Regions from separate parts of the Homo sapiens genome. Here region 1 is linked to region 2. Evidence: promoter capture Hi-C in human tissues and cell types (Jung and others, 2019). All regions are on one chromosome and are shown on one strand. Each heading gives the region's core, a stretch centred on a gene start or on the middle of the fragment in contact. The rest is flanking DNA. Distances are from core to core; before and after follow the strand shown. Region 1 has its middle 27 kb from the start of TLR3. Region 2 holds the start of PDLIM3 (PDZ and LIM domain 3).

Evidence for each region. The method cuts DNA at HindIII sites, captures the fragments that hold promoters and counts their contacts. A contact is called where the count stands out against the background at its distance.
Region 1: a fragment that was not itself captured here is called in contact with the fragment with the promoter of PDLIM3 in region 2 in 1 of the 25 tissues and cell types used here (mesendoderm cells).

Annotation. Positions count from the first base shown.
Region 1 is chr4:186,040,865-186,044,306 of GRCh38, reverse strand. No RefSeq gene overlaps it. Among named protein-coding and RNA genes, the nearest start is that of TLR3, 27 kb to the left of the region's middle. The HindIII fragment of the contact is 6,003 bases long and covers 1-3,442 here.
Region 2 is chr4:185,533,333-185,536,910 of GRCh38, reverse strand. It overlaps PDLIM3 (PDZ and LIM domain 3), which reads left to right and starts at 1,404. Exons shown (of 8, transcript NM_014476.6): 1 at 1,404-1,569. The coding sequence starts at 1,477. The HindIII fragment of the contact is 14,334 bases long and covers 1-2,656 here.

The DNA.
Region 1 (3,442 bases), core at 10-2,509, 510 kb before region 2:
CCTGTTCCTGCCTTAACTGATGATATTGTCTTGTGAAATTCCTTCTCCTGGCTCATCCTGGCTCAAAAGCTCCCCTACTGAGCACCTTGTGACCCCCACTCCTACCTGTCAGAGAACAACCCCCCTTTTTCCTTTACCTACCCAAATCCTATAAAATGGCCCCACCCCTATCTCCCTTCGCTGACTCTCTTTTCGGACTCAGCCCGCCTGCACCCAGGTGAAATAAACAGCCTTGTTGCTCACACAAAGCCTGTTTGGTGGTCTCTTCACACGGACGCGCATGAAAGTGATCCACCTGCGTCAGCCTCCCAAAGTGCTGGGATTACAGGCGTGAGCCACTGCGCCCGGCCCCTTTTGCCATCTTTCCTATGAGTTTACCAAATGTGAAAGTGGTAAAGTAGTCTCTACCTCTGACATCACATGTGGCAGACATTCATATGCATATACACCCAAATATTCACAGTCAGCACACTGTGCATGATGCGGGATAAAGAACATAAATAATCATTGAATATTCTATCATCTGCATCCTTGAAAATCAGCATCTTGTGGAAGAAAGAAGATGCAGATGTACACGGAAGAGTTATTAAAATATGTTGTTCTGGACTTTGGCAATGTTAGTATGAATTCTGTGTGCATGTGTACGTTCATATATGTGTATTTCACAGGTGGGCGGAACCATCATGGTATGAATTCTGTGTGCATGTGTACGTTCATATATGTGTATTTCACAGGTGGGCGGAACCATCATGGTATGAATTCTGTGTGCATGTGTATGTTCATATATGTGTATTTCACAGGTGGGAGGTACCATCATGGTACGAATTCTGTGTGCATGTGTATGTTCATATATGTATATTTCACAGGTGGGAGGTACCATCATGGTACGAATTCTGTGTGCATGTGTATGTTCATGTATGTGTATTTCACAGGTGGGCGGTACCATCATGGTACGAATTCTGTGTGCATGTGTATGTTCATATATGTGTATTTCACAGGTGGGCGGTACCATCATGGTACGAATTCTGTGTGCATGTGTATTTTCATATATGTGTATTTCACAGGTGGGCGGTACCATCATGGTACGAATTCTGTGTGCATGTGTATGTTCATATATGTGTATTTCACAGGTGGGGGGTACCGTCATGGTATGAATTCTGTGTGCATGTGTATGTTCATATATGTGTATTTCACAGCTGGGAGGTACCATCATGGTACGAATTCTGTGTGCATGTGTATGTTCATATATGTATATTTCACAGGTGGGAGGTACCATCATGGTATCAATTCTGTGTGTATGTGTGTGTTCATATATGTGTATTTCACAGCTGGGAGGTACCATCATGGATCTGCGCAAGTGTTTATGGTTGTCAGTGAAACCTTGAAATAATAAACTGCTTCTCAGAATAAATGAGGTGATAAACTTCACGATTCCTTTTTAAAAATCTCACCTCTATTTTAAACTTCGAGTTTGGTCCTTCAAATTCTATTAATGACATTCTAAGTTACATATCCAATTACAAAGAAATTGACTTTCTTTCAGAACATTCACTGAGATTCTTTATATTCACCATTTTCCAACAGTTCAACCATATAGAAGAGCTGAAAAAATTGTACAGGGAACACCCACATACCATTCCTTAGCTTCCACAATTAACGTTTATCGCTTCTCGGCCGTTTGGCTAAGATTAAGTGCACAATTAACGTTTTACTGTATTTGCTTTACCACATAATCATCCATCTATCCATCCCTCTCTTAATCCGTCTTGTTGTTTGATGCATTTGAAAGTAAATTTCAGACATCTATATACTTCACTCCTAGTCTTCCCAAGGCACATCGTTAAGTAGAGTTGGATATTTGTTTAAAGTGTTTTTTAGATAATATTTACATGCAATGAAAATGCATAAATCTTAAGTTTTCACTTGATCAATGTGGATAAATGAACACATCATTAAAATATAGAACGCAGCCTGGGCAACATGGCAAAACCCTGTCTCTACAAAAAAATGCAAAAATTAGCTGGGTGTGGTTGTGCATGCTTGTGGTCCTAGCTACTTGGGAGACTGAGGCAGAAGGATCACTTGACCCAGGAGGTTGAGGCTGCAGTGAACTGTGACCACACCACTGCATTCCAGCATGGACAACAGAGTGAGACCCTGTCTCCAAAAAAAAAAAAAAAAAGAAGAGATAGAAACGTTATTGCTTTGGTCCAGGAAGTTCTCTAGCTCATTCCCTGCCAGTATTCCCCAGACACCTTCTCCCAGAAGCATCTGCTGTTCTGATATCTTTTTTACCACAGGTAAGTTTTTGCCTATTTCTGGAATTTCCAATAGATAGAATAATATATTACGTGGCTTCTTTCACTCAGTATAATGGTATTTGTTTGTTTGTTTGTTTGTTTTTTCTTAGACAGAGTCTCCCCCTGTCACCCAGGCTGGAGTGCAGTGGTGTGATCTCAGCTCACTGCAACCTCTGCCTCCTGGGTTCAAGCAATTCTCCTGCCTCAGCCTCCCAAGTAGCTGGGATTATAGGCACCTGCCACCACACCCAGCTAACTTTTATATTTTCAGTAGAGACGGGGTTTCACCATGCTGGCCAAGCTGGTCTCAAACTCCTGACCTCAGGCGATCTACCCACCTTGGCCTCCCAAAGTTCTGGGATTGCAGGTGTGAGCCACCGCGCCTGGCTCCACTCAGCATAATGTTTTTGAGAGTCGTTCATGCTACCGTTTGTATCAGCAGTTTATTTCTTTCTATTGCTGTGTAGTATTCCCCTGTATAATTCTATAGTTATCCACTCTCCTGTCAGTGATCACCTGTCTTATTTCTAGGTTTCGTGTATTATAAGGAAAGTTGTTGTTGTGAACATTCCTGGGAAAGTCTTTTTGTAACAAAGGTTTTCATTTTCTTAGGTAAACACCTAGGACTGGAATTGCTGGTAGGAACGTCTTTAGTTGTATAAGAGAATGCCAGGCCTTTTGCTAAGTAATCATGCCCTTTCTTACTCCCGTCAAAAATGTAGGCGCCTTCCAATCACTCTACATCTTTGCCCATACTTGTTATTGTCGGTCTTTAGAGTTTAGCCATTCTGGTCGATTGTGATTTAATGTACATTTCCTTGATGACTAATATTGAACATGTTTCCATGTGATCATTGGTATGTCTTTCTTTGTGAAATATCTTCAAATACTTTCCTCCTTTTAAAAATTGGGTTACTTCTCTTTTTTCTCTCTGGCTGGCTTACGTGGTGTCTGCAGCTTGTGCTCTGCCCTGAGAGGGACTCGGTGTCTCTGGACTCTCGCACAGCCACCCTGTCAGGGGCACTTCAAGAAGCCATCTTGGGCCAGGCGCGGTGGCTCACACCTGTAATCCCAGCACTTTGGGAGGCCGAGGTGGGCAGATCATGAGGTTAAGAGATTGAGACCATCCTGGGCAACATGGT
Region 2 (3,578 bases), core at 155-2,654:
TCTCATGTCCCTGCTTTCCACACTCTCTGCAAAGCCTTAGGAACTCATCAAGCCTGGGTGACAGATTAAGACTCTGTCTCCAAAAAAAAAAAAAAAAAACAAAAAGAAAGAACTCATCAGATATTATGTGGATATTGTATAGATATTGGCTACATCTAAATGATGCCAAAATGACCAGCAAAAAGGCAAAGAAAAAATCAGCTGTTTATATAAGCCAGCTCGTGAAGTAAGGTAAAAACAATTACTATAATTACACAACACCAAATGACTTGTCTGATTTTTTTTTTCTGAATGGACCTCTGTGTGTGTGCACGTGTATGTCTGCACCACGCAGACAGAGCCAGCAGCTGACTGAAGAAATGTGCTCTGCAGTGATACAGCCACAGCCCAAACAGGCAGTCAGCAGGACACACAATGTTCAGCTCCTCGATGGTCCAGCATAGATGGGGCACTGGGAAATGTGTGGAGCTAGAAAGTGCTTATCCCCTGGGACTTTTATGTAATCCACCACAGCGGACAAAGTAATGCCCATCCTACCTTTGTGATTTACATTTGCCCAGGCTGGTTCGCTTTGCTTACTGCTTACTGCTTACTGCTTTCTGCATCTCCTTTCTCTTTCCTCCATCAGTCTTAAAACTGCTTCCAAACAGACTGCCCTCTTAAAAGTCTGCTGCAGCTCTGTCCTCCTGGACCAATACGACCCTATCATATGGGGCATTAAGTCCAAGACCCTTATTCTTGAGTGTTTAAAGCATTTCTTATTTCTCTTCCCTCATTCTCCCCTCTCCCTTTGGGAATCACAACATCCCAACGCGTAACACCAGAAATACTTGAGTCCACACTGAGACTACCACAGGACCCCGGCCAGACTCTCCTGCACTTTGGGAGGCTGAGGTGGGAAGATTGTTTGAGCCCAGGAGTTCAAGACTAGCCTGGGCAACAAAGTGGAGACCCGGTCTCTAAGAAAAATAAATAAATAAAATAAAAATTTAAAAGGACATTAAGTAATTTGGCCAAAGCCGCAGAGGTCGTAAGTAAATATTAACGCACTCGAAACTGCTAAATAACTTATTGTATCGATGATGCTCGTTTTAATTGAAAGCATGGAGGCTGTGGTCTGGCTGCTTTCGCTTCCAACAAAGTGCACTGCTGCGCTCCAAGCAGAAGATAAACAGGGAGACAGGTGTGACTTCAAGAGAGCGACGGACGCTGTAACCCGAAGCCCCCGCGCCCGCCGCGGCCCGGGAGGCTGCCCCAGCCGGCCGGGCTGCGCACTCCCGCGGGGCTGGCGCGGCTCTCGCTTCCAAAGTTGGAGCTCTCCGGGGTGGGAGGGGGCGGGGAGGACGGCGGGGCGGTGACGTCACCCCCAGCGGGGATAAAGCGCCCCCGCCCGGGTCGGGGCCAGGACGCCGCCCGGCGCGGAGTGGCTGCCCTGCGCGGGGACACTTAGAGCCCGGTGGGCGGGAGGAAGGCGGCATGCCCCAGACGGTGATCCTCCCGGGCCCTGCGCCCTGGGGCTTCAGGCTCTCAGGGGGCATAGACTTCAACCAGCCTTTGGTCATCACCAGGGTAGGTGTCGGCATTCTTGCTTTTGCTGCGAGGTGGGGACTCCGGCGGCGTCCGGGGGGACGCAGTGGATGCCCCGGGGCCGAGGGCGGCCAGAAAGCGCGCGAGGGCGGGCGGACGGGGCGCTGCTGGCTCCCGGGCTTCGGCGCCCAGCTCCGGGGGCGGCGGCAACTCCGTCAAGTGGCTGCGGAGCGGCTCAGAGATTTGACAAAGTCCGCTCTAAAGGTGTCCCATCCTCTGGGTCCGCAGCGACTTTCCGAGGAGAGCCACTGGGCTCAGGGAAGGCGAGGCTGCCAGGCTCGAGTGCCTCCTCCCCTTTAGGTTTTAAATGTTTTATATGTGATAACAGAAATAAAACACACCCCATCGCCCTTCCGTAACAAATGATGGGTCCCGGGTGGGAGAGGCGAGGGACTGGCACCCCCCGGCATTCCCTGGAGCTGGCGCGCATCTGAGCGTTTTTCTCGTCCGGATGAAAAGTTCAGCAGCGCGCTGTTCGCGGGGCACGACCTGCGTTGGCCAAACTGGAGCCGCTCCTATCAGCCCAGACAGGGGAAGTCTTCCTAATGCTCACTCCTCAGTTTCCAGGCATTTTGAGCACGTTTTCCAAAGCTGAGAACTTGGCTTAGGAATTACCAACTTCTAACTCTAGCTACAAAGAAAACGTGGCAGACAGTTTAGTTTACCTGATGCAAAGTAAACCACTCAGCCTAAAACGGAAAATAATGCTTTAATGTCAAAGTCAAGCTTTACTTGGTGTTCTCTACTGTCTAATGAGAAAACAAGGTAAAAATAAAACCTCAGGGTTTCTCTCCTGTCAGTAAATTTGTAGAATTAATTCTAAAGCATTATTTGGTCTAGCTGGTTTTTTTCTAACACAATGTTTTTCTTCATAGAAAATTAATGTATTATTTCAGTTATCACATATAAAACATTTAATACCTAAAGGCGTAAACTTCCAGAATATTATACTTTTAGTTGCAGAGTATTATACTTTATTTTCTTGTATTCTTCTCATGCCATATTTTATAATTGTATGTGTTATAATCTGATTGATCTGCTCATACAGATTTTGAACAAGGTAATACCTTTTAAATTCTGTTTTATTTATATATGCCTATGAGATTTGGGAACCAACATCCTTTTAAAAATATGTCAAAATGTGTATCCTACAGACGCATACAATGGAACGTTTCAAGCCTTGTTTTACATTTTTCAAAAACATATAAACACATCTGACGTGTTTTTATATGAAACATGAAAACTGTTCAACATACCCCCAAAAACGTTCCTAAGTAAAGTAAGCAGAAAATGCTTCAGTGACCTGGGCCAAGCAATTCCTATTATAGATTTACCAACAAAAACAGTTTCCGTTATATCTACTAAGAAATGTTTTAGTTTCTGGAGTATGGTTTTTATTTAAATTGAATAAGCTTTTGAATCCTAACACAGAATAAATCATATTTATATTAAATTCTAACCAAAATAATTTTGTCACGAAAACTTTTAAGGTGTTTATAAAAGAAATATTTTGCTATTATAGTATAATCGTATGTCAATATAATTAATCATATGCTTGAAATTTTGAGTTGTTGACATTATAAATGTTTATTTTAAAGCAGTACTTACATTCCAGAGTTGGACTACAATAGCTATTGGTAAATATATTTGATATAATGGCAGTTATTATTAGGGAAACCAATTCTATCTGGAATTCCTAACTCATAACTAATTTGTATCACTCATTTTTGACATTTGGTTCAATAACAGTTTATGACCAAATATGATTTCACTTGATTATGGCTTTTCTCTTTAATTAATTCTAGGACAGCAGGTAAAACCAAATCATTTTTGTATCCCAAGTGTCCCCAAAGCCAGGTATATAGTAGATTCTTATTGAATAAATAAGAACATTTATTTATTCAATAAGAACTTTTATGCTTTAGTGAACACCTAATTCAGAATATTTTCACTGAAATGATAAGAATATTGAAATTTGTTAAGGAAAAGAA